2 separate regions of the Homo sapiens genome follow, and region 1 is linked to region 2. The links are contacts of gene promoters, found by promoter capture Hi-C in human tissues and cell types (Jung and others, 2019). All regions are on one chromosome and are shown on one strand. Each heading gives the region's core, a stretch centred on a gene start or on the middle of the fragment in contact. The rest is flanking DNA. Distances are from core to core; before and after follow the strand shown.

What was found. Contacts are between HindIII fragments. The study calls those that stand out against the background at their distance.
Region 1: a contact is called between the fragment with the promoter of RANGRF here and the fragment with the promoter of ODF4 in region 2, in 2 of the 25 tissues and cell types used here (aorta and bladder).

What each region holds. Positions count from the first base shown.
Region 1 is chr17:8,286,309-8,291,499 of GRCh38, forward strand. It overlaps RANGRF (RAN guanine nucleotide release factor), which reads left to right and starts at 2,362. Exons shown (of 5, transcript NM_016492.5): 1 at 2,362-2,557; 2 at 2,648-2,764; 3 at 2,950-3,106; 4 at 3,195-3,280; 5 at 3,505-3,779. The coding sequence starts at 2,481. The coding sequence ends at 3,628. SLC25A35 (solute carrier family 25 member 35) reads right to left here. Exons shown (of 5, transcript NM_001320870.2): 3 at 5,025-5,177; 4 at 4,534-4,668; 5 at 3,753-4,370. The coding sequence ends at 4,197. RefSeq lists enhancers at 2,025-2,254, 2,615-2,734, 3,015-3,084 and a silencer at 2,815-2,864. The HindIII fragment of the contact is 21,210 bases long and covers 1-5,191 here.
Region 2 is chr17:8,337,727-8,342,929 of GRCh38, forward strand. ODF4 (outer dense fiber of sperm tails 4) reads left to right here and starts at 2,114. Exons shown (of 3, transcript NM_153007.5): 1 at 2,114-2,779. The coding sequence starts at 2,326. It overlaps LOC124903916 (a long non-coding RNA gene), which reads left to right and starts at 331. Exons shown (of 2, transcript XR_007065607.1): 1 at 331-565; 2 at 697-1,032. The HindIII fragment of the contact is 12,554 bases long and covers 1-5,203 here.

The sequences.
Region 1 (5,191 bases), core at 1,112-3,611, 51 kb before region 2:
GGTCTAGAACTCCTGATCTCAGGTGATCCACCCACCTGGGCCTCCCAAAGTGCTGGGATTACAGGTGTGAGCCACGGCGCCTGGCCCCCCAACAGCATTTTAGAGATGAGGAAATGAGACTCAGAGAGGAGTCTGATGGCTATAGTAAGAAATGAGGAGTCAAGCTCCTTAGTGTGCGCTACAAAAACCCTGCACACCTGACTGTGTTTGCAGCTCCCTGCCACCCATTCCCATCCTACCCTCCCTTGCCAAACAGATACACTTGCTTTCTCCAAAATATGCCCTCTCATCTCCAAGTTTTTGCTCCTGATGTTCCCCCAGCTAGAATACCCCTAGGATGTCCTACTGAATTCTGAGTCAAACTTTAAGACTCAAAGTATGGGCCAGGCATGGTGGCGCATGCCTATAATCCCATCACTTTGGGAGGCCAAGGCAGGAGGATCACTTGAGACCAGAAGTCCGAGACCAGCCTGGGCAACACAGTGAGACTCCATCCCTAAAATAAAACACACACACACACACAAAAATTACCGGAGCATGGTGGTGCATGCCTGTAGTCCCAGCTACTCAGGAGGCTGAGGCAGGAGGATGGCTTGAGCCCACAAGGTTGAGGCTGCAGTGAGCTACGACTGCACCACTACAGTCTAGTCTTGGCAACAGTGAGACCGCCTCTCAAAAAAAAAAACAAAAAAAGACTCAAAGTGTGCTCCACTGTTCCTTCAGTGAGGCATCGGGGGCTGTGTCCTAAATGTCTTTGTATCTCCAGCCCTTCACATTAGGGCCTGGCAAGGTAAGAGACCAATAAATATGTACCCTTTGGCTTCATTTCACTAAGTCATTAGGGTCCAGAGGTATGGTCAGCACTTGGAACCCTGTGGAATGGCCTCAAGATCAGAGTCCTCTTGCCCAATTCTTGGCTGGGAAGTAGGTGACATCTAGAATCCATGAGGGTATGGGTGATCTCCTGGGTTCCAGACATTTGCATTGAGTTTATTCAATCACTTAACAATATATATTAGGTCTGGGCTGGGCACGCTGGCTCACGCCTGTAATAATCCCAGCACTTTGGGAGGCCAAGGCAGGCGGATCATCTGAGGTCGGAAGTTCGAGACTCACCTGACCAACATGGAGAAACTCCATCTCTACTAAAAATACAAAATTAGCTGGGTGTGGTGGTGCATGCCTGTAATCCAGCTACTTGGGAGGTTGGGGCAGGAGAACAGCTTGAACCCAGGAGGCGGAGGTTGCAGTGAGCCAAGATCATGCCATTGCACTCCAGCCTGGGCAACAAGAGTGAAACTCCATCTCAAAAACAAAACAAAACAAAAAAACCCAATATATATCAGGTCTGTTATGCTCTAAACACCGTGCCGGGTGCTGAGGATCAAAGATGAATAGAGAAATGAACTGAAATGATATAGTGAAGTTAAAACTTAAAGAACACAACAAATCTGTAAAAGACAAACAAAAGAGGGTTTAATCTGTGCTTCTGTCCAGGTGTGTGGAGCTGGGGGTGGGGTTGCACCTGCCCGGGAGCATTCCCAAGGCAAATATTTGAGAGGAATTAGATTTCTAATACCCAGGTTGGCTCTCACTTTCAGGAAGATGTGAGACCTGAATCCTAACCTGGACGCATTGTTCCCCTAATTCCCAGCAGCAGATCTATGAATTAGCGGTCTGGGTGGCAGCCCATTCTTCTTTCAGAGGCCCAGAACACCGTGAAACTATGCTTTCCTGACTCAAGAGACCCTACCTAGACGTGGGCCCCTTTGACGAGCACCTGCCCCTCAGGAGGGTCTCAGGCGACCTTCTTGGAAGGTGTGACCACTTGAAAAGGACGAGGAGGCCAGGCGCTGTGGCTCTCGCCTGTAATTCCAGCACTTAGGGAGCCGAGGCGGGAGGATCGCTTGAGTCCAGGAGTTTGAGGCCAGCCTGGGCAAGATTGGGAGACACTCCCCACCCCGCCCCATTTCTACAAGTAATTAAAAATTTAGCCGGGCGTGGTGGCGGGAGCAGGAGCCACTCAAGAGGCTGAGGCAGGAGTATCACTTGAGTCCTGGAGGTGGAGACTGCAGTGAGCGGTGATCGCGCCACTGCATTACAGCCTGGGCGACACAGCGAGACCTGTCAATCAATCAATCAATCAATCAATCAAGAGGAGGCTGGCGGGAGCATGCTCGTGACCACCGGGGGCGACATAGACCCTAACCCTAAGTCCAACCCCAAGGCAGACCCCACCGTCCCGCCAGGCGCACTCCTAAGAGCGCGGCTTCCGGAGCAAAGCCGCTGACCCCCGCCCCCAGGGTCTTGGCGCCGATTGGCCAACGAGAGCGCAGGGCGGAGCCAAATCTTAAAGGATCCGGGAGCTAAGCCAGACCCGGGTGGCGGTGGCAGCTGCGAAACCCAGGGAGCCGATGCCACGTGACCCAATGTGGACTTCTTTTAAACCTTTCTAATGCCCATAACCCAGCCTCAGACCCATGGAGCCCACGAGAGACTGCCCGCTGTTCGGGGGCGCCTTTTCCGCCATCCTCCCCATGGGGGCCATTGACGTAAGGTGAGAAGGCCGGGGCGCCCAGGGGCGGCTGACTGGGTGGGTTGTGGGAAGAGACCGGGGTCAACCAGGGTCTGCCTCGCCTCACTCCAGCGACCTCCGACCGGTCCCGGACAATCAAGAAGTTTTCTGCCATCCCGTGACGGACCAGAGCCTGATAGTGGAACTTCTCGAGCTGCAGGCCCACGTACGGGGCGAAGCGGCTGCGCGGTGAGGGAATGGCCCCCGGCTGGCCAATGGCAGGGGCGGGGTCGGACCAGTGGGCGGGGCCCGCGGCCGACGGTTAATCCGGGCGGTGAGACCACGCACGGGCCGGGAGCCAGGCCTGCAACTTAAAGATGCTCCCGGGGAGGCGACCAGAGATGTCCCTTCCTGACCCCGCTTCCCTACTCCAGGTACCACTTTGAGGATGTTGGTGGCGTGCAGGGGGCTAGGGCTGTCCATGTGGAGTCTGTTCAGCCTCTCAGTTTGGAGAACCTGGCCCTGAGGGGCCGCTGTCAAGAAGCCTGGGTCCTCTCTGGCAAGCAGCAGATAGCTAAGGAAAACCAGCAGGTGAGGGCCCGAGAGTGTGTAATGTCCTGGAAGGGCGGTAGCGGGGACGCAGAGATCCAGGTAAGCATCCTGACTCTGATCCCCTTAGGTAGCAAAGGACGTGACACTTCATCAGGCCTTGCTGAGGCTGCCCCAGTACCAGACTGATCTCTTGCTTACCTTCAATCAGCCCCCGTAAGGAGGAAGGAACGGGCGGGTATCTCATGACTGGGTTCCCAGGAGAATCGGGCTGGGAGGGACAGAACAGGGAGACTCACTGGTGGGATCCTCCAAGGAAGCAGGAGTGGGCCAGAGGTTTGGGGTAACTGATACCCAGGTCCTCTGGGGAACAGGAATTGGCAATTTCCAAACCTCAGGCCTGGATGATGTTCTGTCTCCATCTGTTCCCCCACCCCAAGCCCTGACAACAGGTCATCTCTTGGCCCCGAAAATCTGTCACCTGCACCCTGGAGCCTGGGTGACTTTGAACAGCTGGTGACCAGTCTGACCCTTCACGATCCTAACATCTTTGGTCCCCAGTAAAGGCGCTGAAGCACTGCATGATGTTGCTGAGAACTTGGGGACTCGGTTCTGTGAGGGGGAAAAGAGGTTGAAAAGAGGGTTTCCTCTTATTTCTTCCCTGTGCGTAAACATAAGACAATCCCTCTTCAGAATAAACTTGCTTTATAATCAATATAATCTCTGTGCCTTTGAATCTAACAGGACACCTGGGTCCCAGACGCCTGGGAATTGGGTCTCTCGATTCCCTTTGGTTTTGGAGGGAGGAGTTTAAAACTGTGCATGGGAGCAGGAGGGACTCAAGGGTGGCAGTGGTGAGTGGGAGGAAATACACTTTGGGATGACTCGTTCAGCCCTGAGAGAGGGGTGTGAGTTACCCAGGGAATGGGTAGGGAAGGTTTAAAGCAACACCCAAGGAAAGAAGGGAAACTCATCTCTTGTAGTGATTCAACCCTGAGAACAGATGGGGAGTGGGGTTGGCTGTCCCCCATGGATGGATGAAAGGTCACCTAATCAGTAGTCACCAGGACATAGTGGTGGAGGCACAAGTGGCCAAGGAGTGCTCATTTGGTGGAGACTGGGAAAGCGGCTGTTATTTAGTGTCTGTGTAGTAGAGGGAGCGCAGCTGGTCCCAGAAGAAGAGGGAGAGGATGGTGTGGGGGCCGAGGCGGAAGTAGGAGGCACCTATACCCTTGTACATGCCAAAAATGCCCTCGGTCCGAGCTGTCTGCAGCAGAGCGTCCAGTATCCCCCGGTACATGAGGCCCTGAGAGTGTGTCAGAGAGGGAGGGAGAGCACAGAGAAGGAGTTTGTCAGAGCCCACCAGGGGCAGCACCTCTACAGGCTGCATTTCAGGCTATCCCACCTGCACCCGCAATCTGCCTTCCCCATCCCCTGCTTCCCGCCTGCATCCCAGAGCACTTCCTTACCTTGCCCTGTGCATCTGTGGGCTGGTTGTAGAGCCTTGTGCAGGCCACATCAAAGGGTGCCATGGCCAAGACAACTGCAATGCCACTCATCATGGCAGCCACCAGCGCCAACTTCCAGCTCTGGGGAGGAAAGATCTAAGGGGGTAGAGAGGAAGAGCGTTGTCAACCAGCCAACTATTACACCCCAAGGACAGGACAGTCCCTGCCCTGGGGACACAGATGCTGGTAACTGGGGGAGCTTCCACTGCACCAGTTATAACAGTGCAAAAACAGTGAGAAGGAGGAAGGCCAGGGTACCCTGAAGGCTCAGGTACCCCTTCTGGGAGGAAGTGACAAGAGAACTGTGGGAAGGGTCTAAAGAGTTGACCTCCAAGCCCTCCTGCCACTCCCTCACCTGTGAATGTTGGGCACCATCCCCTCCAGGGCCTAGTGCAGCTTGCCCTCCCCTTCCCCCCTTCCCGAAACAGACCCACCCATTTCCCAGGCAGTACCTCCCACTGGCTCAGGAGGTCCTTGGTGGATGAGAAGGTGCACAGCTGGGTGGAGGAACCGACGATAACTCGGGGCAGGCCGCCCAGAGCCCCACGCCATAACCCCACCAGACCATGTTTCTGGCCAATCTCGGTTAGCGCCTGAAACATGCCCTAGTGTGGGGAAG
Region 2 (5,203 bases), core at 864-3,363:
GAAGGAAGACTGTCTCAATAAATAAATACATAAATAAATAAAATTATAACAATCTCAGAAGGCATGACACCTCTAGGACCCATTCTCATCCTACATCCTCCTCTTTCTGGTGCTGAGAAAAAAAAGAAAGGAAAAAGAAAAGTCAAAAGAAGAGGGAAGGAACTGGTGGTGATTGACTAGCAGTGAGTAGAGCTGGGAGGGAGGTGAAGGGTTGGGGAAAGCAATGGGAAGCTCGATGACATCTTTGCAAGACATGTCCAAAGAACAATGGAGGGAGGATCTTTTCCTGGGGATAAGCTCCTGCTCCCTCCCCCTGCTCCATCAGTGAGCATTTGGGGTTGGGGTTAGGGCAGAGGAACTAGGAAGAGAAAAGGGGACTGTCCTAGTCCATTTTGTGTTGCTATAACAGAATACCTGAGGGTGAATAATTTATAAAGAAAAAAGGGCTATTTGGCTCACAATTCTGATGGCCAGAAAGCTCAAGATTGGGCATCTGTTGAGGACGTCAGGCTGCTTTCACTTATGGTGGAGGCAAGGGGGAGCTGGCTTGTGCAGAGATCACAAGGTAAGGGAGGAGCTGAAACTGTGCCCCAAACAGTTAAATAAACCAGTGATTAACAGACATTTTCGAGTTTACAGGATGGCAGCTAAGAAACAGCTTGCTGAAATGCTGAAAAATCCCTTTGCTTATAACAGGACTGGCTGAAATCAGTGGGAACCCGTATGGCTGACAGCAATCCGCACAGAACGAGCTTGCTGATGTCACAGCCTGAATTTCCACCTGCTGTTTCATACTAACGCCACCAAATTTGCACATGCAACCCACGAAGAACCTTGGAGATAACCAGACATGATTAAGGACTTTCTAGACTTCTCCTTTCTTTCCACCAATCACCCGCTAATCCCAGAATCCTCCCCCTAAACCTTTTCTAATAAAAGTACTGCCTTAAGACCAGCAAAGAGAGACAGATTTGAGCTGGATTCCCGTATCCTCGTGGGTCAGCTCACAATAAAGCTTTCCTTTTCTCAAAACCTAGTGCCCTAGTATTGGAGTATTGGCTTCTATGCACATCTGGCAGCGAGCACTTTTGCTTGGTAACAGCGCCAGGTTCTTTTTAACAACCAGCTATTGCGGGGAGCTAATGGAGTGAGGTCTCAGGGAAGGCGTTAATCCAATCACAAGGCATCTGCCCCCATGACCCAAACACCACCCACTAGGCCCTCTCACCTCCCATCACCACCACACTGGGGAGCAAATTTCAGCATGAGGTTTGGTGAAGACAAATTAACCATATGCAGACCACAGGAGGGCCTCTCACATACCATTGCTCATATGTAAAGGGAGGCAGAAGCTGGAGGGAGGTGTCAGATCCACAGTTCTGAGCTGTGGCCTGAGAAACAGGATTTCCGGAAAGAGTTAGAGCTGGAGCCACAGGCCAGGCAAGGTGGCTCACACCTGTAATCCCAGTGCTTTGGGAGGCCAAGTGGGGAGGATCTCATGAGGCCAGGAGTTTTTTTTTTTTTTTTTTGAGGCTGAGTTTCACTCTTGTTGCCCAGGCTGGAGTGCAATGGTGCGATCTCGGCTCACCGCAACCTCCGCCTCCCAGGTTCAAGCAATTCTCCTGCCTCAGCCTCCTGAGTAGCTGGGACTACAGGCATGTGCTACCACGCCCAGCTAATTTTGTATTTTTAGTAGAGATGGGGTTTCTCCATGTTGGTCAAGATGGTCTCGAACTCCCGACCTCAGGTGATCCACCCACCTCGGCCTCCCAAAGTGCAGTGATTACAGGCGTGAGCCACCGTGCCTGGCAGAGGCCAGGAGTTTGAGACCAGGCTGGGTAACATATCAAGACCCCATCTCTACAAACAATTGAAAAATTAGCCAGGCATGCTGGCACAATCCTGTAATCCCAGCTACTCAGGAGGCTGAGGTGGGAGGATCACTTGAACCCAGGAGTTCAAGGTTGCAGTGAGCCAAGGTTGTGCCACTGCATCCCAGCCTGGGCAATAGAGGGAGACCCTGTCTCTCTCTCTAAAAAAAAAAAAAAAAAAAAAAAAAATTGCTGAAGACTTGGCTTCCCTCCCCCATCTCACTGTGCCCCAGGAAAATTCCGTGGCAGTTAGGGGACCTGGCCTGCTGAATGGGTTGGGGCCTTCTCTTGGATCAAGAGTCTCTTATTTGATCGAGGTCTGTTATTAGACTTCCTCATTCTTTCTCAGACCTCAGGCTGCATGGTGGCAGCTGATGAAAATATCCAAAAGATGAGAAGAGACAATTGAGTCTGGTGAGGGAAAGGGGAGACAGAGGGTGAAGTGGTGCTCAAGATGGATGCAGAGTACTCTGGGAATGAGTTCCCCAGGTCAGAAGGAGAAAGAGACCAACATCAGAGACCTGGAAAGGAAAGGAAGAGTGGGGAGGCAGGATGGGGCACAGGTGAGCTGGGACAAGATGGGAGACTGCTGTCCTCCACCCTCTCCCTCAGTAGTAACAGGTCCTTGGGCCAGCGCCAGAACTCTCCGCTGCCCTTTCAATGGAGAATCACACACAGCTTCCGCTGGATGGCCCAGGTGTTGGCCTCTGAGCTCAGCCTGGTTGCCTTTATCCTACTATTGGTCGTGGCCTTCTCCAAGAAATGGCTGGACCTCTCTAGGAGCCTCTTCTACCAGCGCTGGCCCGTGGATGTCAGCAACAGAATCCACACATCAGCCCACGTTATGTCCATGGGGCTCCTGCACTTTTACAAATCCAGGAGCTGTTCTGACTTAGAGAATGGGAAAGGTGAGCCCCTCCACCCCCCATCCCAGCCCAGGCCGCCAGCCTGTCTTGGCCTCTGTATCTGCACCCTGGATGTATTCTTGTTCCCTCTTTCTGGTCATCTTTACTTTTTGGCCTGCAAGATGGTTCCACTGGCACTGAGACCTCCGATGATCGTTTCTCATCCTGTAGCCTGGCTAAATAGATTTGATTGGTGCAATGGAAAATGTCACTGCTTTTGATAAAACCCAGAGCCAAATCTGTGCTTCTAAGAATGCTGTGAGAGAGTTGGGCATGGTGCTGCACACCTGTAGTCTCAGCTATCCAGGAGGCTGAGGTGGGAGGATTGCTTGGGCCCAAGAATTTGAGTCCAGCCTGGGCAATTTAGTGAGACTCCTGTCTCAAAAAAAAAAAAAAAAAAATCAGGCTGGGCACTGCGTCTCACACCTGTAATCCCAGCACTTTGGGAGGCCAAAGCAGGCAGATCACCTAAGGTTGGGAGATCGAGACCATCCTGGCTAACATAGTGAAACCCCGTCTCTACTAAAAATACAAAAAATTAGCCAGGCGTGGTGGCACATGCCCGTAATCCCAGCTACTCTGGAGACTGAGGCAGGAGAATTGCTTGAACCCGGGAGGTGGAGGTTGCGGTGAGCCGAGACCGCACCATTGCACTCCAGCCTGGGCAACAAGAGTAAAACTCTGTCTCAAAAAAAAAAAAAAGTTACGAGGGGCATGGACTCAGCACAAGAGAATCATTCATTAATCGCCTAATTTACCAGGGACAAGAGCCCCAGTGAGATGGGGGTTTCCTTAGTCTTGTGTACCCAGAGCTTTGAGAGGACTCCTTGCAATGTCCCCTCTCAGGCCCTGATCCCACACATTCTCCTTTCCTTCTGCCTCAGGCCTTGCTTTTCTGGATCATTTTCCTTTTTCCACATCTGGCTTCTGTGTTCCTTCTTTCCCTGAATTCTTGCAGCTGCTTCATTCCTCATCCTTGTTTTTTTCTGTTTGTTTCGCTGATTTTTTTAGAGACAAGGTCTCACTCTGTCACCCAGGCTGGAGTACAGTGGTGCAATCATAGCTCACTGCAGCCTCGAACTTCCAGGCTCAAGGGATCCTCCTGCTTTAACTTCCGGAGAAGCTCAGACTACAGGCCGTGGCCACCACACCTGGTTCTTATTGTTGTTAGTCTCTGGTTATGCTGTTCCCTCACCCCTCAGGAATTTGGAGTTCTTTCCCTGCTCCTGGGGAAAACCAGAGCTTTTGACCCTTATTTCCATTTTTTCACTCTCCTTAGCATGAAAAAAATCACACAGCTATTATTTTCTGAAAGTATTATGTCCTTATCATATGAATATGAAAATATTCATATAATGAATTATGAAAGCATTATGAAAATATTATGTCCTTATTATAATAAATTTGGGGAAACAAAAGCTATCCTTTATTGTACACTTACTCCATTTGTTCAATTTAGTCCTTAGTCAATCCTAAGGGATAGGGATAATTATCCCTATTTTAGAGATGAGAAAATTGGGACTCAGAGAGATTAAGTACCTTGCTCAGGGTCATAAAGCTATTTAGATTGAACCAAATGACATGCTAATATTTGACTGCTTTTCACCTACAAAAGGAGAATTTCACATGGATCAACCTAATAATGGCAGGGTTGGAATTGCAACTCAGGTGTGCCTGGCTCTAAAACTCACATAGGCGCCTTGCTCTACGGAGTTACTCAAAGACAGCCAGGCTTTTTATTTTTATTTATTTATTTATTTGAGACAGAGTCTTGCTTTGTTGCCCAGGCTGGAATGCAGTTGCGGTCTCAGGTCACTGCAACCTCTGCCTCCCGGTTTCAAGCGATTATCCTGCCTCAGCCTCCCAAGTAGATGGGATTACAGGCGCCCACCACCATGCCCAGCTAATTTTTGTATTTTTAGTAGAGACGGAGTTTCACCATGTTGGCCAGGCTGGTTTTGAACTCCTGACCTCAGATGATCCGCCTGCCTCGGCCTCCCAAAGTGCCTCGGCTCACGGATTACAGGCGTGAGCCACCGCATCCGGCCAAACATCACTGATTTTTAAAATTTATTTAATTAGGATTAGGTGTGTATAAACAGTGAAAATTCAAAGAATACAAAAGATTGTATACTGAAGTGAGTCTGTTATCTCTTAGTATCCAGTCTCCCTCCCTAGTTTCTCCTGTTTCTTTCCAGAGACACTCTATTCAGAGACAAGCATCTATTTTTATTTTTATTTTGAGACAGTGTCTCACTCCGTCACCCAGGATGGACTGCAGTGGTGTGATTGTAGTTTATTGCACTGCAGCCTCAAACTGCTGGGCCCAAGTGATCCTCCCACCTTGAAGCTCCCAAGTAGCTGGCACCACAGATGCCACCATGCCTGGCTACTTTTTTTTTTTTAATTTGTAGAGACCAGGGTCTC